Linked DNA regions of Homo sapiens: all the other regions are linked to region 1. Evidence: promoter capture Hi-C in 16 types of primary human blood cells and fetal thymus (Javierre and others, 2016). All regions are on one chromosome and are shown on one strand. The core of a region is centred on a gene start or on the middle of the fragment in contact, and the rest is flanking DNA. Distances in the headings are between cores, read along the strand shown. Region 1 holds the start of NRIP1 (nuclear receptor interacting protein 1). Region 2 has its middle 280 kb from the start of USP25. Region 3 has its middle 260 kb from the start of USP25. Region 4 overlaps LOC105369302 (a long non-coding RNA gene). Region 5 has its middle 210 kb from the start of USP25. Region 6 overlaps LOC101927745 (a long non-coding RNA gene).

Region 1 (5,045 bases), core at 1,127-3,626:
ACTTAAATAATTGTTCTCTTGGACGGGCTTTTGAAAGCTAGTACTTCTTAATCATTTTCGACTATATCAGAACTGTAACAGACATGTCAATTTAAGCAAACTTCATGAGCAATAAACTAACAAACAGACTCTAGGTGGTGGTATAGGTTATTTTTTATCATGATGTTTTGCACTTATAACTGCAAGAGTCAGAAAAGCCTTTAGTCTCTTCACACACTTCTTTAGTGCAAAGTTAACAATATTTTAGGGTGTTAAAATTAGCAAAATCCAAGTTCTGCAGAGTTTAGAAATGCATGTAAAAGAGGCATTAAACCTGGTTTTCAACTAACTTCCCACAGGCATTAAACCTGGTTTTTCAACTAACTCATTTGAATAAAATCAACAACGAACAGTCCTTTTTTTTTTCTGTTATGTTCTGATGTATATTTTACTCACACTCCTAGGGCACTTTTAAAGGTAAGTTTGGAAAGAGGTCTTTCTCCACCAGAGTATGAAACAGACTAGAACAACCAATCCTACAACCTGCAGGGCAGTAGCCGCTCCACTAATTGATTCTCCTTCTTTGTCTCTAGGAACTATGCCCAGGCAGAAAAAAAGTTACTGTAGGTGATGAAGCCAGTGCTCCCTGAACCAAATAAACCCTATCGACGTTACCGAACTGCCGGGCAAAACCAGAGCAACTCACTTACTTGGAAGGTGAAAAACACTTCAACATACTCCAGGCGGCAACCGACACTTAGGGGCCAGGCAGATGAAACACCATTTGTTTAAAAAGTCTATTATTTCACTGTCTCTTCAACAAAGGTGGAAAACTGATGATTAAACACTGAATAATGCCACCCACTTACTAAACCTATGATTCACTAATAAGCAGGTTCAATGCAATTCATAACTTTAAAGAATGAATTACCGAAGCCCCTTGCTTCACAAATTCCCCCAAGAAACAGAAAGAGCATTCATCACATATAACCCGACAACCATTTTTACTATGGACACCTACAGATGGCTTCTCTTCCTCTAAGGACACAATTTCCTTCACAATCCCACATGTAATCATTTACAATACCAGAAACAAACTCCAACTCAGTTCCACCAACTGGGTTTTTAAAAATCCTTGTGCCTAAGAACGTCTTTTTTCCCCAAAGTAAAATGTGCCATTAAAAAATATTTTTAAAACGCAAAAGTGCTTATCATTCCGTACTTCTTTTACTACCTTCAGCAGCCAATTATTGACGTGATAAAAGGTAGAAACTCCTGGAATGCTTCAGAGATCAACATGTGTCACAGACTCCCAGCCTGTCCGCCTCTAAGACACAGTTGGTTCCTTTGTTCCTTCTGACTGAACACCAACTCCTGATCAAAATTGGGAAACTACTTTGGAAGGGATGGGAGGGTCTGCAGAATACATCCACGGAAACCTTCATAAAACAATATTCAATCGTAATAAGGTGGACACAGAAGAAGGGAGAAAAGGCAGCCTCCCGGACTTCCACCGGGCTCACCCTAAATGGGGGCCGGCCCCTGGCTCCTGGTAAAATGATGGCTGAGGCCTCGGGTCCGTGAGCCTCGCCATCGGGAGGGGACCGCGAGTGCGGGCAGAGCGGCCCGGGGTCGGGTGGGGGCCGGGCGAGCTGTCCCTTTTCCTATTCACTTTCCCAGCCGGGTATCCAGCGAGCAAGGAGCAGGGAGGCACCCAGGCGAAAGGCGCCGCCCAGGATCCGGCTGGACAGCAGGACGGAGAGCGGCGAGGCGAGCGGTGCCCGGGGTTCGGGACCGAGAGGGCAAGCGAGCGGGGGCAACCCCGACCCGGCCCCCCGAGTCCGGCCCCGCTCAGGGGCCACGCGACGGCCGCCCCCTTGCCCAGAACTGGCACGGACGGGCGGGCCGACCCGGGGCCACTCCACAACTTGCCGGCCCGCCGCCCCGGCCCCCCGCGAGAACCCGGAGACTCGAACCAGGCAGCAGAGGCAGGATTTCCCCGGAAACGCGCCCTCCCCGCCGCCCCGACGCCCCCGCGGCCCTGCCAGCCAAGCGAGAGCCGACGCGGGCCGCGCTCCCGGGCCGTTTCCGGCGGCGCCGGCGGCCGCTACTCCTGGCGCCCTGGCCGCGGCCGTCACTCACCCCAGGCCGCCGCGGCTCCCAGCCTCCGGCTCCGTCAGGCTCGGTCCGCGAAGGCGCCTGCCGCCCCGTCCTGGCCCGGCGCCCCGGCGAGCTCTTCCCTCCGACCAGCGGCGCTCACGGCGCAGCGGCGGACGCGAGGCCACGGGCGGACGGGCGCGCGCGGGTGGCGGGCGGGCGTGGGGCCGGGTCGTCCCTGCGCCTCGCCGCCGCCTCCTCCGCCGCCGCCTCCCGAGTTCGGGGCTCTGCTGCAATGTCTGCGAGGCTGACTTTGAGCGCCTCGCTCACCGCCCGCCCGCAGCCGCGCTCCTCCCTCCGCCGCCGAGTCCGCCGCGGCCCAGTCCCTCCCCTCGCCGCCCCACGCCATTCAGCTCTTCAGCCAAGTTTCTTAACCCTTTTCTCCCCCTCCCTCCCATTGTCACCCGGTCAGGAGGAAGCCGCGCGGATCCGGGCGGCTCACAGGAGCTGCGGAACCCCCTCTGTTTCGTGGATTTCCTTCTCGCCTGCTCTCCGGGTGTCCCAGACGGGGCTGCAAGACCCGGAGGCAGCGAGAGGACCGCGTCCCCGAGAGAGGGGCTGCACGGCGCGCCCGGGCCGTCCCCCGGGCTCCCAGCTCTGTCCAGCCGCCCGCGACCGCTGCAGGCGCCTGGACAGCTCCTCCTGGGGACCGGGGAAAGCGCTCTTGGGACCCAGGCCGAATGCTCCCGTTTGGGCACAGCCTGGGGGCCGGGGCGCCCCAGACGCTCCAGGGTCCCCGCCTGCCTTAAGCGTCTACCTCCTCCCCTTCACCCCACAACACGCGCTCTCTGGGCCCCCTTTCACCCACCCACCCCCAATTTCTATCTCCTTGTAATCTGTGTGTCCTGCTTTAATGTTGGGGGGCACGGGCGCGAACTCTGGGTCACTTTGACCCCACGCCCAGCACGTAGTAGGCGCCCAGCACTCGTGTGGAGCGACTCTGGGAGGAAAACTAGGAAGGAGACCTGAGGAGCGCCCCGCTCAGCTCCCTGGACAGACGTAGGACCCAGGAGCAGGGTTAATCCTCGGCTGCTTTGTCACTGCGAAGTCTCCAGCGGAGTCTGTCAGCCAATCTGCATCATCCCCGGGAAGGATCTGACCCAACAAGACAAGGGAAAAGGAGCAGGGCTGCTACTTCTTCAGCAGCTCTCCTCGGTTCGGTCTCCGAATAAGAAATAACAATTACATCACGAGGCCGGGGCGGCAGCGCGGTGGAGCCTCTCGGTTTCCTGCAGCCTAATCTCACTGAACCCGCCTCTAAATTGGGGGGGCCACAGATTGGTGAAACGAGAAAGTGGAAGGAGGAGAGAGTCATACGAAACCATAATTTCCCCTTATCCTTGTATTTGCTGTTTGAAAAATCGTATCCTCAACGCTCCCCAGACATCTCACTAGAACTATTAACACCCCCTCAACACCTCCCCAGATGTCAGGTTTCTTTTTGACTTGAGCATCTAGCATTTAGTAATTCGCCATGAAAAAAATTACCAGGGGAAGCGAGTGTTGTTGCTGAAATTGTTTTTGCTTGACACAAAAAAGCTAAAGTACAGCTTAGTCTCACCCGAAATTCTGAAACGGCATGCCCGTGTTAAAACACTTATTACATAAGACAAATGAGCCGATGAGGCACTCCATTCTTATATGTAGGTTTTCATATCCTGAAGAATTTGATAGCATTTGGAAATGAAGTTGCTAATGCGCTTAAAAAACAAAAACTATCCAAGTCATGAAACTGTATTCTGTGCCTGTTATGTAATGGCTGTATTGTGTATTGCAAATTTCACTTAACCTTTAAACAATATGAATGAGAGTTTTAGAATACTGTCACAGTCTTGAAAGTGAAAGCAATTTTTCAAATTAATGCTTAATAAATTCAGCACCCAGCACAGTGCCGGGCACATAGTGCCAATGTTTTCCTTAGTGGCAATGGCACATTTTAAAACAATTATTTTTCATCACCCTAGTGATTGAACTATGCAATCTGTTGCCATTTTATATAGTTAAACCTCATATAATATAATACCATATTATTTGCATATACCACAATTCAAAATCTGCTCTAGGCAAAATAAAGTCTGCTGTTTTTTAGTGCATCATTTATTCAGAATTGATACAAAGCAAACCGTTTCAATTCAATGATGACCAGCATAATTGGAGCTTGGCCCTTAGTGGGGGGTCAAACTTTTTTTATGAAAATTATTTTTAACCATTATACAGATTTTTCTACAATGTATTGCAAATGTTTCTCTTAAGCAGTTTGTTGAACGTCATTTAGCATTTTCTTGATAATTCAATGTTAATTTTATTAAAAGTAATTATTGTAGTAGGTTGTAGCGGATTCAGTAAATATATCCAGTTCCTATTCTATATTCTTTCTAGGTGTTAGGAATGCTCCCAGGAGGTACAAAAGCTATCAGTCGCTGCACCGAAGGACTCTAGGATGCTATGACTTAGTGATTATCTCTGCCTTTTGTAATTTCTCTCTCTCCCCCTTCACTAACTGACAATCTATTGTCCTTACTGTTACTAGCATAGCTGCCACTAACATTCTCCTCATCTTCTGATGGGTAACTTCCAGTCTAGTGCGGACTGGGAATCCAGATAGCCTCACTTGTCACAATTCTGTCTAAAGTAAACTTAATAGGTTCTGGGTAAGGGACTAATGGGCTCACCAAGGAGTAGGGCGCACACACACCTTAGTGCATAGACTTTGGGAAAGATATTTGGACTACTCAAGTCTATCTTTTAAATACATTCCTCTTACTTCTTAACCAGGTTTTGGACCATGGAGATTGCCCAGCAAGCCGAGAATATTCCAGCCCTCCAACATTGTTGTTAAAAAGTCCACTGCTGTATGTTAGGTGACTTCCCAAAGCTGCTCACTACTTCTTCTTATTCTGTTTTCTCAA
Region 2 (4,549 bases), core at 1,758-4,257, 380 kb after region 1:
AGGACAGGAGGAGTCAGACATGTGAGTGTTTTTGCAATCAGTCAACAAACATCCACTGTTTACCGATTACAGGACATTTCTTCTGGGCATTGGGAATACCAAGTGACAAAGTCATGCTTTTAATTTTCAAGGTGTTTAATAGAGAATAAGCCAGGGTTGGAACACTCTACCCCGGAAGTCCCTGCTATTAAATCTGGCTTTGCTTTTCAGTAATCACCTCCTTAAAGACCCAGGGGACAAAAAACTTAGAAACAATTTCCTCCCTCCCTGACTTACTTTGTCTCTGACTTCGGCCTTTCACAGTGGCACACATGGTTGGGACATCTAAAATACCACTGGAAAATTTAAGGATATAATCTACCTATATTATATGAATAGCACAAATTTATTTTCAATGAATTAGCAGAAGTTCAGAGCCATTCTTTCTTAGGCACTTTCCTATACTCTTGGTGAATTCGTCTAGTATGTGAAAAAAGAGTTTCTCTCAGATTGTTAGTCCCAGCTACAAGGCCTGCCACCATAGAAAAGTTCCTTCTCTGTCCTTTTTCTCCTCTCTTCAGATCCCCTTTCTTGACCTTTCTATCACAGCATCTGAACCTGCCTGCACCTGCTCATTGTCCATTTGAATTGCTTCTCTGCTGGAGGTATTCCTGGGGCCCACTCTGGCCTACTGCCTTTGGGCTTCACCTGACCTAGCTCTGCATTTACAAAGCAAGCCCAACAGATTTCCACCATACATTTCAAACACCGAGAATGACACTGATTTTGAAACTCAGCTACACTGCATAGAGGAACTCCCTGAATACACCCAATCACCCAATTTAGGGAAGTACGAATTTTCTGACAATGTGAAAGGGAAATGACCTATTTTAAACTAAAGTATTGAAAATTTCTAATTATTCTCATTCCAAGGGAAAAAAATGAAAAAAAAAAAAATCCTAAAGAAAAAGAACAATTCCCTCCTATAACCTATCCCTTAAAGGAATGGACAATACTTGGGTAATGATGTTCAACTTATGCATAAGAAGACAAAAGGGCATTTTTTTCTGTATGGCTTCTTTGCCAGAGACCCTTTGGTAATGTGAGGTTTTTCTAAAGGCATAAGGGACGATTTCTCTATGTAGTTTTGCAAGGTCCCTTTCATTCCTTCTGACATCTTACTTTATCCTTTTCCTTTTTCTCTCCCTAAATGAAATGGATGTCTATGTACATATATATTTTCTGAAATACAAATGTAGAATGGCATGTAAGTACCATAAACCTGAGATTTAATTTAAATGCAATATGTAAGCAAGGCCTGTTAGGTCCTGGGTCCCAGTAAGAAATGGGATTCACCCTTAAAATGGTTTAAGTGAAGATATGTTAACGGTAGCACTCCAAAAAGGCATAGGCAGAGTTTTAGGAGCAAATAAATAATTTACCCAGGGACTAGCAACATTACAACCTCTTGGGCTGAAGGGACAATGAGAAGAAATAATGTTAACAGAACCCAGCGAGAACTGGAAGCACAGAGGAGGGGCCGCCCAGTTGGAGCTGTAGTTTTGGAGAAATGCAGCAGCTGCCCAAGACGTGGTGCTGAAGCCACAGGGCAGCAGAGAAGAAATACCCTGGCTTTACTTCCTTGCAACTCAGTCAGCTCCTGCCAGTACATCCTGTGGCAAAATATCAGCTGTAACCTGTCAGTAAAAAGATTCAGTGGGGTTAGCTTCCTGATACACAGCAGGGAAAACATGGGTTGCCAAGGAATTTGGTATGGAGACTAAGGAATAATTTGCACAAAATTTCCCATTTAAATATGAGAGAATTAGAGTGAATTCAATCATCGGGTTTATAACTAACTTTCAGGAATTTAAAAAATGTGGAAGGATGATGCTATGGATTGAAATATGTCCTCCCTAAATTCATATGTTGAAACTCCAATCCCCAGTATAAAACGCAGCAAGAAGGGGGCCATCAGCAGGCCAGGAAGAGAGCCCTCACAAAAAACGGAATCAGCCAGCACCTTGATCTCGGACTTCCCAGCCTCCAGCATCATGAAAAAATAAAGATTTGTTGTTTAAGTCACCCAGTCTATCATATTTTGTTATGGCAGCCCAAGCAAACCTATGCAGCCGGGTCAAGTATTTTATATATATATTATAGGAGAATACATGCTTTGAGTCATATAGAACAGGATATTAACACCAACTCTAAATTGCTATTTGTAGATTTGGGGAAACACTCCAAACTTCAGTTTTCTAAATTAAATAAGTACAGTATTTTCTTCATTATTGGGCTTTTTTTTTTTTTTTTTTTTTTTGAGATGGATTTTTGCTCTTGTTGCCCAGGCTGGAGTGCAATGGCACAATCTCGGCTCACTGCAACCTCTGCCTCCCGGGTTCAAGCGACTCTCCTGCCTCAGCCTCCCAACTAGCTGGGATTATGGGCATGAACCACCATGCCTTGCTAATTTTGTATTTTTAGTAGAGATGTGGTTTCTCCATGTTAGTCAGGCTGGTCTTGAACTCCCAATCTCAGGTCATCTGCCCGTCTCAGCCTCCTAAAGTGCTGGGATTACAGGGTGAGCCACCCTGCCCAGCATTATTATTGGGCTTTTTAAAAGCATCACATTTCTTCTTGTATATTTTCTTTTTTTAATGAAGTACAGTCTTTACAATAGCCTTTAGTGAAGATTTGCTCCTAAAAACTTAGCTTTTGTTTATCTGATGATGGCTTTATTTCAAGTAGTTTCACCTAGTATATAATTATTTGATAGTCATTTTCTCTTGACTCTTTGAAGACATTTTTCATCATCTTCTGGCTTCCATTGTAGCTGCTTTCATTCCTTTGTAGTTATTTCATATTTGCTTTGTTTTTGGTGAGCTGAAATTTCACTAAGGTGTGTTCAGGTGTGTGTTTTTTTTGTTGCTACCTACTTATATTTCACTGAGGTCTTCTGATGTAATCTAGTCTGCCACCAATATTGGGAAGCCTTTAGCCATTTTTTTTCCTATACTGACTTTTCTCCATTCTCTATATTCTCTTGTGAAATTCTAAGCAATAAGCCAGACCTTCTAACTTTACTGTAATGTCCCTTAACCTCTATTTCATGTTTTCCAAATATTTACCCATGTTATATTGAGTCATTTCTTCTGCTGTATTTTCCAGTTGTAAATTCTCTCCTCAGCTGTATCTGATACTCTACCATTGAGTTTTTAATCTCAATAATTATATTTTTTACTACTGTAAGTTCTGTTTTTAAAATTTTTTAGCAATTCTGCATGATCAGTCTCCACAGTCTTATGCCTTCCTCACACATTTGATGCCTTTCTTTTTTTCTTTTAAAATTTAAAAATTTTAGTAGAGACTTAAAAATTTTTAAATTTTAAAAGAAAAAAAGTAGAGATTTAAAAATTTAGTACAGATTTTAAAATTTTTAAATTTTAAAAGAAAAAACAGTATTCTTACTTTTTATATTCTAAATGCAGTAATTTCCATATCTGAGATCTTAATGCATCTGATTCTTTTCTTTGTATTCTTTGTTGTTTATCCTCTTTCTTGGTCTCAATATGTTATTTTCCATTGTGTTTTGTTATTTTTGTTGTTGTTGTGAGTTTAGGCTTGATGAAACTTTTTCTGTGAGGCTATTCTGAGTCTTAGATTGAGAGTGTATTCCTCCAAAAATATGTGTATTTTCTTATGGCATTCATCAACTAGCACTACCAGTCAGGGGGTGATATGAATTTGGAGCACAATCCCACATTAGGCCCCGTTTATACTGATACATTTCCAGTGGGTGTATTTTTTTGTTTTTAAAAATGAGGTAAAATTTACATAACATAAAACTAGCCATTTTAAACTGTACATTCAGTAGCATTTATTACCTTCACAATGTTGTGGAACCATCACCTCTATCTAGTTTAAAAATATTTTCATCACCCCAAAAGGAAATCCCAAACCCACTGATATGGTTTGGCTGTGTCCCCACCCAAATCTCATCTTGAATTGTCATTCCCATAATCCCCATGTGTCATGGAAGCCACCTGGTGGAAGGTAAATTAATCAGGGGAGAAGTTACCCTCATGCTGTTCTTGTCATAGTGAGTGAGTTCTGAGAAGATCTGATGGTTTTATAAGGGGCTTTCCCCACTTTTGCTTGGTACTTCTCCTTGCTGCTACCATGTGAAGAAGGACATGTTTGCTTCCCCTTCTGCCATGATTGTAAGTTTCCTGAGGCCTAGCCAACTGTAAAGAACTGAGCCAATTAAACATCTTTCCTTTATAAATAACCCAGTCTTGGGTATGTCTTTATTAGCAGCTTGAGAATGGACTAATACACACACTAAACAGTTACTTCCCATTACCCAACTACCTATACCCTGGCAAACACAGATGTGCTCTTTCTCTCTTTATAGACATACCTGTTCTATATATGTTATACAAATGGAATCACATAAAATGTGATGTCTGATTTCTAGCTTCTCTTATTTAATATACTTCCCAGGTTCATCCATGTTGTAGCATTATCAGTATTTTATTCCCTTGCATGGCTAAATTCCACTGTACACACA
Region 3 (4,590 bases), core at 739-3,238, 400 kb after region 1:
AATAGCATAGACATGCTGGTGAGAACTTCAGTGATAGATACTACTGTTCACTGTACAGTACATCTCAGATGGTCTCTGAATTGCAGGGAAGAAGTGGTTGCTGGGAAGCTTAGTGTCTTCATCCATTTTGTGTTGCTATAACAGAGTACCTGAGTCTGGATAATTTATAACGAAAACAGGTTTAGTTAGTTCACAGTTTTGCAGGCTGAGAAGTTCAAAAGCATGGCCCTGGCTTCTAGTGAGGGTTTTGGTGCTAAATCATAACATGGTGTAGGTCAAAGTGGAAGCAAACACGTGCAAAGAAGGAAAACCCAAGGGACATCTTTGCTTTTTCAGCAACCCACTCTCACAGGAACTAATTCATTCCCACAGGAACTAATCCAGTCTGGCCAAAGCAAGAACTCATTCACTAACGTGAGAACAGCACCAAACCATTCATGAGAAATTTGCCCCCGTGACCAAAACACCACCCATAAGGTTTCACCTCCCAACACTGCCACATTAGGGATGAAATTTCAACATGAGTTTTGGCGAAGACAAACTCAAACAACAGCAAAAAGTCCTGTTGTAGATCTACCTATTTTGTCTTTCTTTATTTCAAATTGAAAGCTATATAATTATATTTATATATATTTTAAAATATTATTTTAAATAATAATAAAAATAAAATATATTTTAAAATATTAGTTTTAAAATAGTAATTTGATGTTACTCCAATATAACGCCAGAATTTTCCAAATAAAGCAATGGGTTACCTTTGTAACATTTTTGAACTGCATTTTTTTTGTTTAAAATAATTGTTTCTACTATGTTTCAATCCATGCGAATACATATCTTTTATTTAACACTTATAGGACATTTTGTTTAATTTAGTCATTTTATCTTTCATTGATGATGAACTTACATGAAACCTGTGTAGTATTGGCCAAACTTTATTTTTAGGTGATATCAGGTTATAGCACTTTTTCTTTACCAAGAATGGAGGAAAATAAGTAGTACCTGTTTTTCAGAGGAAAGATAAATGTATGCAAAATATCAGTGTCATGGATGCAAGATCTCTGTTTATTAGCTATCAGGTAACTTAAGAGGTTAGAGACTGAAGAGAAAGCCATCCTCTACATATGGCTTTGGGAATTTGGCAAGAGGTGAAAGGAACATTATAAGATTAAGGCCTGCAGAGTAACTTAACATGCCTTATGATATGTAGAAGAAAATGCAGAAAGATAGGAACATGTGAGTGATGTAGTCCAGGATTTACCACAAGAAGCAGGAATCAACTGCTCACATGTATGTCTCTTTAATTGCCAGATATCTTAGTGTCTAATAGCAATTACATCCCAAAAGAACTACAATGACATTTATTGGGTAACCACTATGCCAGGCCAGATATTTTTGCATATGTTACCTCATTTAAGCCTCACAAATCCTCAGGTATCACTATCCTTTTGTTCAGATACTGGAACTGGAGATCAGAGCATTTAAGGGATTTCTGTACAGTCTGAAAAGTAAGGATCAGAGGTCAAATTCTAATCCAGGACAAACCGTTAACTATGCCTTCTTTGACTTTAAGATAAGAGAATAACTCAGAATTTTATACATTTAATAGGCAGAAAAACTCTAAATTCTCCAATTCTATACAGGTATTTCCTAAAAAGCAGCATAATCATTGTCATCATGGGGAAGAAATGTAGATCAATCATCTCAATGCACTTGGCTTAGTGCTAGCAGTAGCTTTAAAGGAATTAATAGATAAATTCCCTTGACTACGATTTTAGAATCATTAAAAAAGCATTGAGAAAAGTTATTTTCTAGGTAACTTTCCCCATGATTTTGAAACTTAACCTTTATTGGAACCTTCCAAATCTTTCTGTTCAAATCCTTATGATTTAGATTATGAACTTAAGTTGGAAATAACTTTTCCTTATAAAATCATAATGGTTCTATCTATCTATACACACATACGTATTTGACCTCAATTTAATTGTCTTTGAATGAGATTCTGCATTCATGTTAAGATATTTCATTTATTTAAACTAGATTATTCCATTACCAAACATGCCTTCTGTTTAAACTGTTTGAATCACAGCCAAGTAAGAAGCAAATCCTATTCAACTGAACTGAGCCTCTCTGGCCAGCCTTGTGAGTAAGGAGAAAAGAAGTAAAAGAGGGAGGAGAAGAGTTTGATTATGGTGATTTGGTACCTGGAAAAGATGGGGTAAAATCATCAGGTTTTGTAAATAAAAATACAGAACACTTGAATACATTTGAACTTCAGATAAAACAAGGCACAGTTTTTTGTACAAGGATGTCTCAAATACTGCATGAGACATACTTATATTTTAAAATCACCCATTGTTTATTTAAATTCATATTTAACTGGGTGTCCTATATTTTATCTGGTAACCCTAGATGAAGGATCACACAGGACAAATATAACTAGCATTGGGTTCCAATTGCCACATGTCTTTTATGCACAGATTGGCAGGCTTCTCCTGGGGGAAAGTAGAGGCTTAAAATTGAGGCTGCTTTTGCTCACTGCTTAATAGTGACAAGCTATTGATAGCCAGGCATTGCCAAATTCTCATTAGTTTCTAAAAGTCAGGAACTACATTTAGAAAAAAGCGGCTCGCTTATGGAGAGGTCATCTCTCCAGTAACCTCAAGTACCAGGAACACAGCTGAAACCCAGGAAGCAAGGGAAAAAAAGGCCTCTGAGGATTCAAAATAGAAACCATGTGCTAAAGCTCATGCTCTTTTCTCTGAGAAGAGGCCCTCAGACTTGCACTCAGTGTAATTTGCTCTTCTTTCAGACACCATCCAAACAAGTTTGGTTGTCTGATTTCCCACCCAACAGAGATAGAAAGCAGGAAATTGCAAAGTGGGCAGGATGGCTATGTAGACTAGGGGTCAGCCTTGTGGCAGACGATCTGGTAAAAACACATGCACACATATACACACACAAACACACACATGCACTCCACTATATGCAGCAATTCCCATAAAAATTTGGAAGAAATGTACCAAAATGGAATTTGTGGTTATTTTTTAGTAATGAGCTTACAAGTGGTCTTATTTTCTTCTTACACTTTTTAAATATTAGCTAAACTTTTTACATGCATGTTTATGATCAGAAGAGGCAACACAGATATTTTCAATTAAAGAAAATTTAAAAATTATTTCTTGATTCTCTCAGGAGAGCTCTGTTCACACCTCTATTAGAAGCATTTCCCAAATGGTAATTATATGCCAGACATTTATTTGTCTTTGTCCTCTGCTGACTTGTAAACTTTTTGAGAGCAGAGTTAGTACCTTTGTAGCATTGTAGCCTTAGTTATCAGCATAATCTCTAGCACACCAATGCCCAATAAATATTTGTTGAGTATGGAATGAAAGTCAAAATGCATGGTGTTTCTATGGGCATCTAGACATGGAATTCTCCACACCTCTGTCTCCCAGGAGCAGTGCGCCACTGTGGTCTGCTTTGCCCTTTGACTAGGATAAAAGTCTACTCTAAGTCCACAATACAAATTAGAATTAAGATTGCATTCTCTGTTTTTAAAAGCACAGAGGAATATGATTTATTCTGGCAAAGTGTCTTTTGAAATGGTTAGCATCTTTTAAAGTTTTGGCTTAAAGGAATGAGTATAAGAAATTTTGAGAATTCTCTTACTTTTAGTCATTTATTTGAAAATCTGGCTGTATCTGTTAATTGAGGATCATGGGCTAAAGATATGGGACACGGCTCTCAGAGTTGCACTACAGAGGTAAAATGCAATCTGTAAAATATTGGCTGTAGAATAAGACCATGTACAAGTTCTAGAGGAAGAAATGAGAGACCCCTATATGTATTACTTTATATGGCATCTTTATAAAGCTTTAAGGCATGTGCATCTTTGCAAATAAATAAAAATGTGAAAAACACCAAAGCTCTACTTTCCTTGTAACCAATTTCCTTAAAGACCCCCCCTTCTCAGTGCTACATAGAAGGATTGAATATGGTCTTAAGTTCTACTCTTTTTCAACACAAACGAAGATTAAACCAATTCATTCAGAAGAAAGAGAAATGACTGGATTCCATTTACAAGTAGAAAAGGAGTAGAATTTTAGGTCAGGTGCAGTGGCTCATGCCTGTAATCCCAGCACTTTAAGAGGCCGAGGCAGGTGGATCGCGAGGTCAGGAGTTCGAGACCAGCCTGGCCAATATGGTGAAACCCCATCTCTACTAAAAATATAAAACTTAGCTGGGCGTGGTGGTGTGCACCTGTAATCCCAGCTACTCGGGAGGCTGAGGCAGGAGAATTGCTTGAACCCAGGAGGCAGAGGTTGCAATGAGCTGAGATCATGCCACTGCACTTTAGCCTGAGCAATAGAGCAAGACTCTGTAAAAAAGTAAATAAATAAAAAATAAAAAACATAAAAAAAATAAAAAAAACTATGACTATTTAATCAGAAAGAAATATATGAGTTGCTGAACAGTGGATATCATGGCAGAGATACGTGACAATACTGAATAGGATGATTCACCATCTGTTATTTATGTTTTATAAATGATTTCAAAGCACATTTTAGTAACTTGGACGGGATTCTCAAA
Region 4 (5,051 bases), core at 757-3,256, 470 kb after region 1:
CCCCTTTTGGCAGAGCATAACAGGAAATCAGGGGGCAAAGCAGAAATAAGGTTTGCAGAGTTCCAGCTTCAGGATCATGAAGCAATTATAGAAATGTGGTTTGAGCTGAGAGACAATAGCTGAGTAAGTGGCACAACCATACACCGAAAAGTCTTCTGAAATAACTGAAAATTGATTCATGATTAATTACACTACGGTATAGCTAAACTGCTTATGTAGTTTTGTAACTTACTAAGAAGTTGTATAATTCAGCATAGTCTCATAGTTTTAACAAAGAGAAAGAGATAAGCATTCAGTTTCCACTCCCTGTTCATTATGGAATACAAGGAGATACACTGTGCATCTGAATGTCCACTTTGATTCCTGTGTGAGAAATATCGAACCAGCTTGTGGCTTCCAAGAATAAAATTAGTAAAATAAATGGACAAACATGTAAAAGACACAAAATTAAAGCATTCTTATCCTCCAAATCAGACCAAATAAACCTTATCTCAAATGATATTTCTAAACAGTATACCCACTTCTAATCCCCCTCTACCTCCTGACACATACTTAATAACAACTAGAATTTCTAACTTCCACATACACCAAAAAAAATTTATTACCATAATTTATAATAATAAATAATTAAGAACATCTACCTATTGACTTTCTTATCGTGTGTTCACCACTTTAAAAAATGAATCAACTTTCAATTATCTATTTCTTTTTGCTACATGATAAGTGACTAGAATGTAATCAGTTTTTTAATTTTTATTTTAGGCTCAGGGGTACATGTGTGCAGGTTTGTTATATAGTTAAACGCATGTCACAGAGATTTGTTGTACAGATTATTTCATCACCCAGGTACTATGCCTAGTATCCAATAGTTATTTTTTCTGATCTTGTCCCTCCTTTCACCCTCCCTGCTCAGTTAAGCCCCAGTATCTGTTGTTTTTCTCTTCACCAAAAGGTTTTTAAAACCTGGTTTTGGCCAGCGTGTAAAATCATGTGCTACCACATCTTGTTGAAAATTTAATTCACATTTCCATGCAGGACAGAAGTTTGGTTTTATGCACCATTTATGCTCTAAAATATGCTCTATCCTTCCTATAGAAAATGCATTCCTAGAAATTATCTCTAGGGAGATAGTTACATCCATATAAAATAGATTTAGCTGGAGATTATTTTATCAGGTTTTTTAAAATAAAGCAGATGAACATAAACCTAAAAGTTTTGCATAGAATCCTGGTTAAATAAATTACACAAGTAATGAAACACTATGCAGTCAGTAAACATGACTGGTTAGACATACCTTTTATTAACATAGAGCAAGCTATAAAACATTCATTCATTCAAAAAATATATACTGAGTATCTGCATTGGCCAATGTACCAAAGAGTGACAGAAGAAAAAAAAGTCCCTATTGATGTAAAACTTCACATATGTTCATATGAACACACACACATACACACACACACAGATGTCTGGTGGGACCTTCTCAAAAATATTGAGTCATTCGCTAAAAAATAAAGTGGTTTTCTCCCAGTGGGGGACTATAGCTGATTTTTACTTCAGTCTTTTATGTCATGTATTCGCATGAATTTATTTTACAAAAATAATATAGCCACTTAAAAAAATCCTATACCTATTCAAAATCGAAGGCAAAGACTATTACTACCACTAAACCTTACCAGGGTTACTGGCTGAATGTGATTTCCTTTCTCTCAGAATTGCTTTATCATTTGGTGAGTATCATTTTGGGGAATTCAGAATACATTGGATTCTGAATTATAATTAGTTTTGAATTTGTCTTTCCTTGAGGATAGTGACACTGTCTTGTGTAACTTTTTGTCACCTATAACATGTAAAGTAGAGCTTAGATGCTTTCGGTGTGTGCTCAATAAATAATGTGTTATATTTCTAATTTCACTCACCATCAAATTGTACTGGGCATTAGTCAGGGTAACTGCTTTGCCCATAGAGTTTATAGGTTATCATGTGCTACTTATAGCCCATGTTGAAGAGCAGCCTTAAAGAGCTATGTTTTGTAATATGTAACCCCAATCTCCAGACACAGCTGATTGTATTGAGGGTGAATACTTGACTCAAAGGCAGCCAATCCAAAACCTGGCCAGAGCATGACCTGGAATGCAAATGTGATCATAGGCTACTCATAAGAGAAAAAAAATCAAACTGGCTAATAAACCTGTAAAGCCTTTTCTGCTTTATTAACAGTGAAAATGCAAGCTAAAAAAGAGACAGACATGATTTTATTCCCATTGGATTGTTGAAAATTAGGAGTGACAAGTCTCATATTATTGAAAATAAGAAGGGTGATAATATCTCATATTGAAAAGAATGAAGGGAAATGGTCACCTCCACGCCCCATGGGTGGGAATACAAAAATTATTAAGGCAATTTGACAGCATCTACCAGCATTTACATTATGCTCATCACCTTTTAACCCAGTTAGTCTACTCCAGGAAGACAACTTGCAAAAATAGCCACAGGTGCACAAAGATGAGGCAAGGATTTTCATTGTAATATTCAAAAGAGATACATTTCCATCATTAGGGTGAAGTAGGCTATGTTATTTTCATTCATTAGAAGAAAGGCAGAGATTCAATAGAAATAAAATCAAACCCAACATCCTTACTTTGAACCGCAGTCCTATATAATTTGGTCCCTGCATTTCTGAACTCATCTCTTCTCTCCTTCCCCACCACTCACCTGCTTCAGAACTCACTGGCATTTGCACTTGCTCATTCCTCTGCTCGTTTCATATCTCCAGCCATTCTCAGGGCTGATTCCTTCTCTCCAGCATCTCTGGTTAAATGTTACCCCCAGGGAGAAATTTCCTCATCAACCTGGCCTCAAACCTCTCTATATTTTCTCTCTTCTTATTTTCTTTGTCTAATTTACCTTCTCTTGACATTATATTAAATATTAAGCCACATTTTTTATTGTCCATATCTTTCACTAGAATCAAAACTTTTATGGGCAAGCAATTTATCTATTATTTATCACTAAATCCCCAATGCCTAGAGTGATGTCTTGTAAAGAATAAATGTATGTTTGATAAATTCATTTATTCTACAAAAGTATATGATAGAACTGTGTATTTTAACATAGAAAAATATCTAAGATCTATTGGTGTTGCCAAAAAAGACACAAATGATATGTTCACTTTTATGTTAAGAATACGTGAGTATTTATATATAGGGGTGTGTATGTGTTTAACACATACATGCATGTAATTATCTAGATAGAGAACTAAAATTATATATATCAAGTTGTAATCTCTGCCAAGGATAGTGTCTATGGGAAGTAAGAAAATGAAACTTTGACATTGTACTCTACATATTTCTGTATCCATTTAATGTTTTTACAAGAATAGATTTATATACTTCTCATGAAAGGAAAACAAAGAAAGAAAAGTAACTACTAATAATGACAAATGACATTTAAAGCTCTTGTAATAGGCAATACTTTGAGCATTACAGATGTATTAACTCATTTAATCATCACAACAGCCCTAGAGGATATATTATTATTATTAATGTTAATATTACTATTTCAATTAGAGAAGAAGCTAAAGCATAGAAGAGCTAAGTAGCTTACTCAACATTGCACAGTGTCCAGGTAGCAAAACCAAAGAAGGAAATAAAGGAGGAAAGAATGAAAAGGAGGTAGGAAAGGATGAAGGAAAGAAGAAAGGATTCATTAATCAGTTAATTTATCAGACTGAATATGGCAAATGAAAAGTGGTTAAAGTTGTGAATGCCTACTATGCAAAATTGCAGGTTATTTGAAAGAGAATGAAATGTAAGGAAGATTTTCAGCTCCTGTCCTGGGGTGCACAGCTCTTCCAGAATTCCCAAGATTCCTTGACCAGATGGTTCAGTTTTTCTTGATTCCCACACACGTGTCCTGAGAGAAACCCTGCGGCGCACAATGACTTGAGTGAGGCTCTCTTCTTTGCCTCAATACCTTAAAGTAGAATGGATGTTTTTGACCTGCAGAAATAATGCCATGTGTTAGAAAAGGTTACTTATTTCCCAAGTCTGTTAAAGAGGAGAAATTATCAAAGGAAACTTAATATTGGTCAGCAAAACAGGGACAGTTTCGAAATTTTCAAGAGATCATCAAAACAATCTGTGTGCGTGTGTGCACATGTGTGTGTTTAACTATGCACTGATGCTTTTTTTGCCTTTCTTTCTTTTGTAAGCTTACCTGATTGGTCATTCGCTTTTTAAAATCCTGCAGTCAAGTATAACCGAATTGGGTGAATATAAGGGCGCAAAGAAACAAGAACAATGCAGGAGAAGACATGAGAACAGATGTGCCTCATGTTAAATTAAAACGCTCCTTTCTTCTGAACTTTCTTACTAAAATTCTGCAATTTGTGTAAGACGGATTCCATTTAGCACTGCTTTTCATTTTCCTTAGAGCTTCTCCATGTGATGAAAGAGAGATTGTGGGTGAACATCTGAGATAAGCATGGCATTAGGTCTCCTTCTATCTCTTTATTTATTAAAAGAATGGATCATTTATTTCTTTAAGACTAATATAGGTTTGTATCTGTAATTCATTTATCAACTTTAACATTTCATTTGAGATCTAACAGAGATGGATCATTGTGTCATCATAATCTTTTAATTAGAAATACTATGTTAAGTGTGCCCTTAAATGAACCCTAAAAATCTTCCTGCACTCCAACCACGGGTGTTACATTACAAAGCACGCTAGTTTACTGACCATTTCAAGATTGCCTTGTGGTTTTTATGCTTCAGAACATGAGGTTTATTGGTAGTGACACAGGATGAAATCCAAGCATATATGATTACAAATGTCCACATGGCAAAGCTTGGCTTTCAAAATTCAAATTGTCTACAAAGTAGAAACTGCTATTTTTAAAAAGCCAAAGAAAAAGTAAAAAAATAAAGTATCATATCTCATTTATAGATCTTGTTCCTTCCTCTGAAAGATACTGAAAGCTTAGGTAGCAGAGTTGTTTTAAAGTATATTCTCTTTTACAGTTAGGCAAAGATATGATTTAAGAGAATGCT
Region 5 (4,733 bases), core at 956-3,455, 460 kb after region 1:
TCATTGATATTTCTGTGGGGTGGGGGGAGGGGGGAGGGATAGCATTAGGAGATATACCTAATGTAAACGACGAGTTAATGGGTGCAGCACACCAACATGGCACTTGTATACATATGTAACAAACCTGCACGTTGTGCACATGTACCCTAGAACTTAAAGTATAATAAAATATATATATATATATATATATATATATATAAAGAAACTTGGTTCCTCAGGCAGCAGAGATCAATGGAGACTTTCAGCACGGAAGTGGCCTATCAGGTCTGTCTTTTCAGAAGAACACTGTAATAGAACAGTGCACGCTGCTCACTTCCTTCATTGTAAACCCAAACCATGGTTCTTTAAGTTCAAGTGCAATAACTTTGGAATAACAAGGTATCAGTCATCTCAATTACCACCCATAGTACTATAAATGAGTGCCATCTTTCTGAAAAGCAGTTTGGTGCCTTAGATGTCTTCAAATATGCATGCCCTATTGTCCTGGAAATTCCACTTCTAGGACTCTATCCTGAGGAAATTATGAAAAAGGTACCAAATATTTACGTACAAGACAGCTCATTTTTAGCATTGTTCGTAAGAGTGAAAAGTTGAAAACCCAAAATATTCAATAAAAAGTAACTGGTTAAGTAAATTAAAAAAAAAAGAAATTTCTCATAAGCTGAATTATAGTGTCGAGAGTTACTAGGCTTCCTGATTTTTCTTATTAATAATTCTGGATATGAACAAACGAGGATAGAATAAAATTATGATCCTTTTGTAGTTTACACATACTGTCAGTTTAATGTATGTTGGAAATAAATTAGACTTACCTTTAGCACTTTTGCTTCTTGGAACAAGAAGAATAAATTAAAGATATTTTTTATTAGTCACTCCTTTATAGAACTGATGAGATATTAGAATACATAGGCATTGTTTTGTGCTAGAGAGAGGAATCAGGGCAGGATGACAGTCACTTACAGAGCTACAAGCCATTGCTGTATTACAGTGTGTTAGTCTGTTCTCATGTTGCTAATTAAGACATACTCAAGGCTGGATAATTTACAAAGGAAAGAGGTTTAATTGACTCACAGTTCAGGATGGCTGGAGAGGCCTCAGGAAACTTACAATCATGGCAGAAGGGGGAGCAAACATGTACTTATTCACATGGCAGCAGGAAGGAGAAGTGCCAAGCAAAAGAGGAAAAAGTCCCTTATAAAACCTATGAAACCATCAGCTCTCCTGGGAACTTACTGCCACAAGAACAGCAGCTTGGGGTAACTTCAACCATGATTCAATTACCTTTCACTGGGTCCTTCCCACAACACATTGGGTATTATGGAAACTACAATTCGAGGTGAGATTTGGGTGGGGACAAAGCCAAACCATATCATACAGTCACCTGAATACCTTGTTTTAAAGTAGTTGGTTAATGTTCTAGGCCACTGTGGCATCTAACTTACTGTGTGTGTGTGTGTGTGTGTGTGTGTGTGTGTGTGTGTGTGTGTGTGTTGTGTACATTTGTGTGTACTCTCTAGTTTTGTCTCTTGATCCCATCAAATAATCTCTCTTGAGTCCTACTGAATTTTTGTTGAAATATCTATACATTTCAAGGATTTTTCAACTATAAGCAGATTATATGGCAACTCTGAGGAGAATTAAATATGGGTTATACGCAGTGTTGGCATCTGAATTAATTCTCTTGAGCATTTATTTTTCATATAATATTGTGATAATAGCTTCTTAGTTTTTTTATTTCACATATGCTTATGTAAAGTTTAACAAGAATAGACAACAGTTGCTAACTTAGAACATCAGGTTATTAAAAACTGTAGTGTACAGTTTGAAATATTATTTTTCTTCAAGGCAGAAAAAGCTTTCTGGCGTAAACTCAAAAGCTGCATTTCCTTGCTTTTTGCCTTAAAGTAAAACTGACAGCTGGAGTTCAAGACCAGCCTAACCAAATGGTGAAATCCCATCCCTACTAAAAAATACAAAAATTAGCCGAGTACAGTGGCAGGTGCCTGTAATCCCAGTTACTCGGGAGGCTGAGGCAGGAGAATCGCTTGAATCTGGGAGGCGGAGGTTGCAGTGGGCCAAGATCCTGCCATTGCACTCCAGCATGGGTGACAGAGTAAGACTCTGTCTCAAAAAAAAAAAAAAAGAACAGACAGCCATGACTGAAGGAAATAATTATGGGAAAAGATGTAGAGGAAAATAAACCAAGAGAGAAGAGACATGTAATAACTATGAATTACCACTTTATATGGTCAGCATTTTTATTTGTGGATATAGTCTGACTATGTATTTTCTGTACATAAATAAGTACGGTCATAGTACATGCAAAATATTTATAAATTACTTGTCAGGTGCAAGTACTTATTTATATTTGATGTTTATTGCTCCTATCACCACACAATCGAGGCACTTTAAGGATATTAAAAACACAAGTTAGGTCTCACCGTATGTATAATAAATTTCACTTCATCAAAATAATCCTATGTCTGAAATATAGTTTTGATAGATTGAGTTTCTTTTCTAAGTAATGAATAAAGGTGGCCAGTAAAATATTGTTTACAAGCTTCCATGTTAAGATGGTGGGTCCAAAAATTTAATTTCTCTCCCATAAAATTTCACAAAACGAGCAAAAAAGAACAACAATGACAGCAATAAAACCCAATGAGAAAATGTTCAACAGCAACCACCAAACCAGAACAAGAGAATAACATACTGTAATTTAATAAGCCAGTCCAAAGAAAGCAACAAATGTTTCCAGAAGAAAAGGAAGAAGCTCCCAACCATGCCCTCATCCTGGAAAAGAGCCAGTCAATCCTCCCTAATGCCATATAAATGTTGGCATCTTTTTATTTTGATTGAACACGAGTGGAAAGTGCTCCAGGGGCGAAGTGGGTGAAGTTAGGGGAAATAAATTACAAGACATCTCTGATAGAAATAAAGCCCCCAGGGTTACCCAGAGAAAGAATCCTTCCCCAGAGTATCTGCCACTAGGTGGAGTGAACCCTGGAATAGGGCAGAGGAGACAGAAGAGCTCAGAGTTCTAATAAAGATTTCATGCCACTTCCTCTCAGCTCTCCTGTGTGCATGACTTCCTCCCCACCTCCAAAGTGGCTGAAATTTCCTCAAGCTACAGAAAATTGTCTACAGCATAAAACATTCAGCTTTTAGACTCTAGTTTGGAGGTGCAAAAGATGGGTTTCAGAAAATGCAAGAAAGCATCACCACACTGTCACAGGATCTTTGGGGTGTCACATTTCCAGCCAGTAAACTCTGTGGCCAGGGGCACCTTTGCCTGAGTTTTGCTCAGGCCCACTGGGCTCCTTCCACCCACTTGGCCTGGCAGGCTGCGCTTGGATCATGCTACCAACCTGGATCCTCCACCTGCCAAGTGTGAGCCAGGCATGGAGTGGTGAGGGGTGTGTGAGAGAGTGTGGGGTCTGGCCACTGTGCATAGCCAGATATTCTGGCTATGGTAGGGCAGGCAGCTCCAGGTACTGGCACGAGTGCCTGCTCACTGCAAGGCTATGGCTGGACCAGGTGTACTGCAAATAGCTGCCACAGCTGACACCAGGAAACACAGTGGTGCCTGGAAGCTTGGAGACACCAGGAACTACAGAGCCCCAAAGAAGGTGTCACTGCCCTGGCTCGGGGAGCTTCTAGGCCTGGGCTCCCCTAGGGGCCACAGCTCTTCTCTCCTTCTTGTCACCTGCAATATGGCGAGTGAGGTGCATGTTTCAGCACTGCCTGTGTTACAGCTCTTTCAGCCCCACCATTTGGCAGGTCTTGACTTGTTGTCCCGCATCCAGGAAAAATGAGGTATGTGGACAAGTGAGCAAGGCAGAGAGGTGCTTTATTGAGCAACAGAACAGTTCAGAGGAGACCTGTAGTTGGTAGCTTCTCTCCTCAGGCAGGTCGTCTGATGAATCTGCAGCTCTCAGCAGAGAGGAGACCCTGGAGTGGGTACCTCCTCTACGCAGGCAGGTCATCCTGTCTTCTGCTGAGCTCTCAGTAGAGAGGAGACCCACAGTGGGTAGCTTCTCTCCAGAAGCAGGTTTGTCCTGTCATCTTCCTGAGTCTGGCCGAGTCCAGGATTTGTATGGGCTTCAGAGGACAGGAAGTGCATGCTGATTGGCCCATGGGTGATTATGGGCAGGCCCTGAAAAAGCGCCATTAGTTTTCATTCTGGTCCATGGAACTGACATCCTGACCCGCAGGCTTCTTGGGTCATCCCTGGCCTGAAGCTAGTGTTTCACTGGGGACCTGCCCCTTTGCAGCCAGGAGCCTGTCTGCCTCCTGCTGCCATTAACCTGCCATCCACAGAGCCCATGGCGCCCAGGCTGCTTGTGCTGAGGGGCACCTGCAGGCCTGTGCCAAGCCGCCCTTATCCCCACCTCGACCTCCCTTCCATGCTTGTCAGTGCCCAAAGTCCAGAGGGGGCTGAAGGGGCAGGGGGCTGGCATGTCAGTGCCACTGTGAATCCCTGCAGTATAGCCATTTAAATATTGAGGGCACATTCTAGATGAGTCCTCATGTGGCAGAAGTGGCAAACAAACCCCCTTGGGCCTCTTTTTTTAAGGGACATCATCTCATTTATGAGGGCTCTGAATTCATGATATGATTGCTTCCCAGAGGCCCAATATCTGAATATCATCATATTGGGGGTTAGGATTTCAATATATAAATTTGTAGATATTCAGACCATAATAGACCTTCCAACCTGCATAGCTATAGCTTAA
Region 6 (5,015 bases), core at 1,224-3,723, 360 kb after region 1:
AAGCAATAGATGCATTTTATTTGGAAACATGAAGTTAAAGGGCAGAAGAGACAAGCAAGCAAAGCAATAAAAAATGACCAATCTGAGGCACAGGACTAGTGGGTAAGAAGTTTGGAGTAAGGCACTATTCTTTTTACTTAAAGGAGTTGTGTCACTTGGCTTTCTAAACAAGGCCCATAATTGGAAATAAAAGACAAGGAAGAAAGACAAAAAAGAAAAAAAGAACAAGAGAGGAAGAGGCAGGGACGGAGAGAGAAAGGTGAAGGAATGGAAAGGGAGGGAAGGAATATAACATATCACTAGAAAAGTATTCAGTGAACTGGTACTGGATGCTTTGCGTTCTCAGTGGATGAAGGAACGGCTATGCCAGGACAATCAGGGCAGGATCTTATAAAGGAGGTGAAACTGAAAGGACAGGTATGGTTTAGACAAGTGGTGAGGACTGTGGAGGGGAGGGTTTATGTAACCCAAAGGCACCATATGAAGTAGTCACTAAGGTAGGTTTACAGGCAGTGTGTTTAAGGCCTCTAGGAGTCCATAGAATGATACCTTTGCTGGGGCCCAGTCCTCCAAAGTATGGCACTGCAGCATGCTGAGCACTTTGAACTACAGGAAATTAAAAGGCCTTAGAAGCAGACTCAGAAACAGGGACTTTCTGATCTTCTCGTTTCTCCTCCTCACCAAGGACAGATAGATAGAAAGTATATCTATTACAGAGAGAGCTTCTCTCTGGAAGTTCTCTAGTATGGCTGTAGAAACTTCTTCCAAAAGAAACGCAATTATCTTAAAACCCCCTCCCTAGGAATCTCATCAAATAAGCAAAGAAGATTAAGCGCAGAGAAAAGACAATGCTGTCACCATGCCCATGCCAAACACTTTTCATCTATTCTTCTGAGACTAGCTCTGAGAAGTTACCTGGGAGATTTTACCTATGTAAGAAGACAACCTTTGCTCACTGTGGAGTTCTGTCCCTCACTTTTCTGCAATTTGTTGGAACATCCTTCAGAGATCAGAGAAGCTTTGTTCTAGGACATTGGCTGTTCTTGGGACTCATTCAATCTCCCTGAAAGTCACTTACTACCCCTTAAAATTACCTACATTTCTCATTTCTCTCTTCCCTATGAAGAGAGTATTTAAGCTTCAACCACCTTGCCCTTCTTTGAGTTTCATATTTTGTATGGTTCCCGTAAACACTTACATGTTAATAAATTTGTGTGCTTTTCCTCTTGTAAATCCATTGTCAGTTTATTTTAGCAGACTTGAAACTTCAGAGGGGGAGGAAAAAATTCCCATCATCCCTACAACTTCGTTTGAAATGAAAAGACATCTCTAAGATTTGGTAGTTTTTTAAGCTGGGTAATGGTATAGGGCAGCTCTATCTTTACGATGTTAAAATTTTGCTAGTTAAAAAAACAAAAAACTAAATGGTACATTCTTGAAGTAGATGCAGGCCCACCCCATAGGCAAAAGACTTGTGAACAGATGATGGGCATGTGCAGATTTGAATGGTATCGCTTCTTCCTGGGGGACATAATACCATTTGCCAGGACACATGAGTTGGTAAGCAGAGTGTGAGCAGAATTTCAGTCTTCTCTTAATCCCTTGGCGGAGTAATCTCAAAGTCCCTGTTTTGGGTCCGTGATTCATGCCCTCCTGAGCCTGACCGTGGAAGGATCAGAAAGCATAGCCAGCGAGTAAGCAACAACGGGGATGTATCTGCCCATTCCCTTCCTGCTACGAGCTTTCGGACATAACACAGAATTGAGCTGTCAGAGAAGAGGAGGACTAAATAGGCATGGGTCTGGAGTTCTGATTATGACTCTGTACTAGATATTTCAGTTGATAAAATGAGATCTTATTTGTAACTCAGAGTGACTGGATGAATTTTTATTGTGTGAATTCTTGAGATTTAATCCAAGCAGTAGGAAAAGACGAGTTTGCAGGCAGGTTTAAGTGGGCAAATGGGCACTGAACACAAAATCAAAGTTATTTTCTGTGTCTAGCTGGTGCATTAAAATAATTGTGAAATGATTCTATTATGTTAATGAAAGTGTATCTATTACTATCAGTTAGATCGAAAACAGATAAATCAGACACTGTCTATTACTGTATCTGCTAGACATTATGCCTTAATACTTCAATATTAGCCAGAGTAATAGTTCCACAATCCCACATGCCTAGAGAGCAATTCAGAAGAGGCTACAAAAATTTAACATGATAAATAGTGAATGTCAAATAATTTTGTAATGGTATCAAATCACTTTGACAGACTTAACTTTATTTTGAGTTTATCTCAATCTAGTTTCACTTAAGTTGAAAAGTAGTTTGTTTTCTACATTGGGATGTTTCAAATACATATATACATGCATTTTTAGAATACCTGTAGTTTCAAAAATACCTCAGAAACGGAATGAGCTTTGGAATTTCCATCACCTTCTGACAATGGTGCATAGAACCCTGTATGGTTTTCGTTTTTCTAATACTCTTTATTGAAATATAATTTACATACCATAAAATTTAGCAAATTGAATGGGTTTAATGAATTCTGAGAGTTCTGTAACCATCTTCATCATCTTGGTTTAGAACATTTCATCACTCCCCCAAATAATCCCCTCTTTATTAACAGTTAATCTGATTTTCCCTCTTCCACCCCGCCAGCCCTAGTTATCCCAATCAACATTCTGTCACTATAGATATGCCTCTTACGAACTTTCATATAAATTGAATCACACAATATGTAATCTTTGGTAATTTGTTCCTTTCACTTAGCTTGATGTTTTCAAGGTTCGGCCTTGTTATAGCATGTGTCGGTACTTCATTCTTTTTAAGTGCCAAATAATATTCTGCTGTGTGGGTATACCCTATTTTCATCAGTTGATGGACGTTTGCGCTATTTCCATATTGTGGCTATTATGAATATGCTGCTATAACATTTTTCACATGTTTATTGTGTGGATGTATATTTTCATTTCTCTCGGGCATATACCCAGAAGTGAAATTTCTAGGTCATAGTGGAGTTAAACAAGATACCTCTATGCCTCCATGTGTAACCTTATGAGGTACATCCAAACTGTTTTCCAAAGTGGCTGTACCATTTTCCATTTCTTCCAGCAATGTGTGAGGGTTTCAATTTTTCTATATCCTCAACAATAGTTGTTATTGTTCTTTTCTTTCTTTCTTTTTAAAATATAGCCATCCTAGTAGGTGTAGAGTGGTTCCTCATATACTTTTAATTTTCACAGTTTTTTTTTTGAGACAGAGTCTCGCTCTGTCACCCAGGCTGGAGTGCAATGGCACAATTTCAGCTTACTGCAACCTCCACCTCTCGGGTTCAAGTGATTCATTCTCCTGCCTCAGCCTGCTGAGTAGCTGGGATTACAGGTTCATGCCACCACACCTGGCTAATTTTTTATATTTTTGGTAGAGACGAGATTTCACCATGTTGGACAGGCTGGTCTTGAACTCCTGACCTCAAGTGATCCACCTGCCTCAGCCTCCCAAAATGCTGGGATTACAGGTGTGAGCCACCATGCCTGGCCAATTTTCACATTCTTAATGACTAACAATGTTGAGCATTTTTTAAATGTTCTGGTTGGCCATTTCTATATTTTCTTTGGAGAAATGTTTATTCAAATCCTTTGTCCATTTGAAAATTGAATTATTTGGCATTTTATTATTGAGTTGTAGGAGTTATTATAACAGTTATAACAATCTATATATCAATCTCTTATACACATATTATTTACAAATATTTTCTCCATTCTATGGGTTGTCATTTCACTTTCTTGATAGTATCATTTGCAACACAAAAGCTTTTACTTTCAATGTAGTTCAGTTTATCTTTTGTTGCTTATTCCTATAAAGGCAGGGGGATGCTGGAGATGTTCAATGCTAAATAAAATGTAGTTTATGACCTAAATGCATGTATATGACAAGAGATGCCATCACTGGTATGATAAAACCATAAAGAATATTCTGTGCAGAGTTGATCATTTCTTTTAAGGCCAGTTTTCCCACCTTCTTGGCTTGGCTAACACTATACCTCTTTCAAGTTTCAGATGAGACAGAATTTTTCTAGAAAGCCCTATGTGCTTTCTCTCACCATCTCATAATGTCATCTTGAAGTAGTATCATTACTAACCCAATCTTAACAGATGAGGAAGCTGAGGCTCAAAAATGGCAAAAAATTTTCCCAAATTTATACAAGCAATTTATTGTGGGGTGAATATTTCAAACCAAGTCTATCTTCAAAGCCAGTGAAGATTTTGGTCTTATTTACTATCTTGGTAATGGGTTTATAACCAGGTGATTATTTCTGAAAGGAGATGATAACCCTTTAAACTGTACATCACATATCATTTCAGCTGCAAAAAATTAAAAATGTGATTATTCAAGTTCATAAATTATATTTTACGCATAATCAATTTAACGGTAGAAGCTTTTCAGGAGGCTCATTGGGAAATCATAATGAAAGTGAGACAAGAATTGTCTTTTGGTCTACGTATATTCTGAATGAGTGCCCCAAAGAAGAGAGCTTCACCTTGCAACTCTCACCACTCTTCTCAGAGGGTGTGTGTCAGAGAATTAAGTATACTGAGGTTGCACATTGACACAACACACTTTGAAGAGGATGGTGACTTTTATTATAGATAAGAGGCAAATATTGGGAAATAGAAACATGTCTCTGAAAGTGAAATTCAAAGGCAAAAGAAGATTGTATATTAACTGTACTTATATTTGAAAATATAAAGCATGAAATATATAAAAATATAAAAGATATGTCATAATTTTTAAAGATATGAATATAGCTGTATGAATATCATAAGCAAGAAAAGAAGTTCTATTTGTGAGTCGACCCTCTCAAAATGAGATTGATGATGAATGCCATGTTACTTCAATTGTTAAGTATTCTTCTGCTATGTCATAATGATAAAAATGTCACAACCATTTAATTATTAATTTCTCATACGATGGGTAAGTTAGATTCAGAAAATGAACTCTTGTGCAATATGAAC

What was found. Contacts are between HindIII fragments. The CHiCAGO score rates a contact against its expected background, and 5 or more counts as called.
Region 2: a fragment that was not itself captured here is called in contact with the fragment with the promoter of NRIP1 in region 1 in 3 of 17 cell types (megakaryocytes, M2 macrophages and M0 macrophages); the score reaches 10.4 in megakaryocytes.
Region 3: a fragment that was not itself captured here is called in contact with the fragment with the promoter of NRIP1 in region 1 in 6 of 17 cell types (M0 macrophages, M2 macrophages, non-activated CD4 T cells and 3 more); the score reaches 6.3 in M0 macrophages.
Region 4: a fragment that was not itself captured here is called in contact with the fragment with the promoter of NRIP1 in region 1 in 4 of 17 cell types (fetal thymus, total CD4 T cells, naive CD4 T cells and 1 more); the score reaches 8.4 in fetal thymus.
Region 5: a fragment that was not itself captured here is called in contact with the fragment with the promoter of NRIP1 in region 1 in 7 of 17 cell types (naive CD4 T cells, total CD8 T cells, non-activated CD4 T cells and 4 more); the score reaches 6.9 in naive CD4 T cells.
Region 6: a fragment that was not itself captured here is called in contact with the fragment with the promoter of NRIP1 in region 1 in 1 of 17 cell types (M2 macrophages); the score reaches 6.9 in M2 macrophages.

What each region holds. Positions count from the first base shown.
Region 1 is chr21:15,062,624-15,067,668 of GRCh38, forward strand. It overlaps NRIP1 (nuclear receptor interacting protein 1), which reads right to left and starts at 2,377. Exons shown (of 4, transcript NM_003489.4): 1 at 2,122-2,377. It overlaps LINC02920 (long intergenic non-protein coding RNA 2920), which reads left to right and starts at 4,447. Exons shown (of 2, transcript NR_186411.1): 1 at 4,447-4,589; 2 at 4,912-5,045. RefSeq lists enhancers at 729-778, 3,229-3,278 and silencers at 1,609-2,468, 2,719-2,898. The HindIII fragment of the contact is 10,218 bases long and covers 1-5,045 here.
Region 2 is chr21:15,444,819-15,449,367 of GRCh38, forward strand. No RefSeq gene overlaps it. Among named protein-coding and RNA genes, the nearest start is that of USP25, 280 kb to the right of the region's middle. RefSeq lists an enhancer at 110-879. The HindIII fragment of the contact is 7,816 bases long and covers 1-4,549 here.
Region 3 is chr21:15,465,883-15,470,472 of GRCh38, forward strand. No RefSeq gene overlaps it. Among named protein-coding and RNA genes, the nearest start is that of USP25, 260 kb to the right of the region's middle. The HindIII fragment of the contact is 3,765 bases long and covers 107-3,871 here.
Region 4 is chr21:15,534,813-15,539,863 of GRCh38, forward strand. All of the region lies in intron 2 of LOC105369302 (a long non-coding RNA gene), which reads right to left. Among named protein-coding and RNA genes, the nearest start is that of USP25, 190 kb to the right of the region's middle. The HindIII fragment of the contact is 4,404 bases long and covers 1-4,208 here.
Region 5 is chr21:15,518,002-15,522,734 of GRCh38, forward strand. No RefSeq gene overlaps it. Among named protein-coding and RNA genes, the nearest start is that of USP25, 210 kb to the right of the region's middle. The HindIII fragment of the contact is 705 bases long and covers 1,854-2,558 here.
Region 6 is chr21:15,424,727-15,429,741 of GRCh38, forward strand. The region is part of intron 2 of LOC101927745 (a long non-coding RNA gene); the gene reads right to left. LOC124905055 (a long non-coding RNA gene) reads left to right here. Exons shown (of 2, transcript XR_007067934.1): 2 at 803-1,233. Among named protein-coding and RNA genes, the nearest start is that of USP25, 300 kb to the right of the region's middle. The HindIII fragment of the contact is 2,674 bases long and covers 1,137-3,810 here.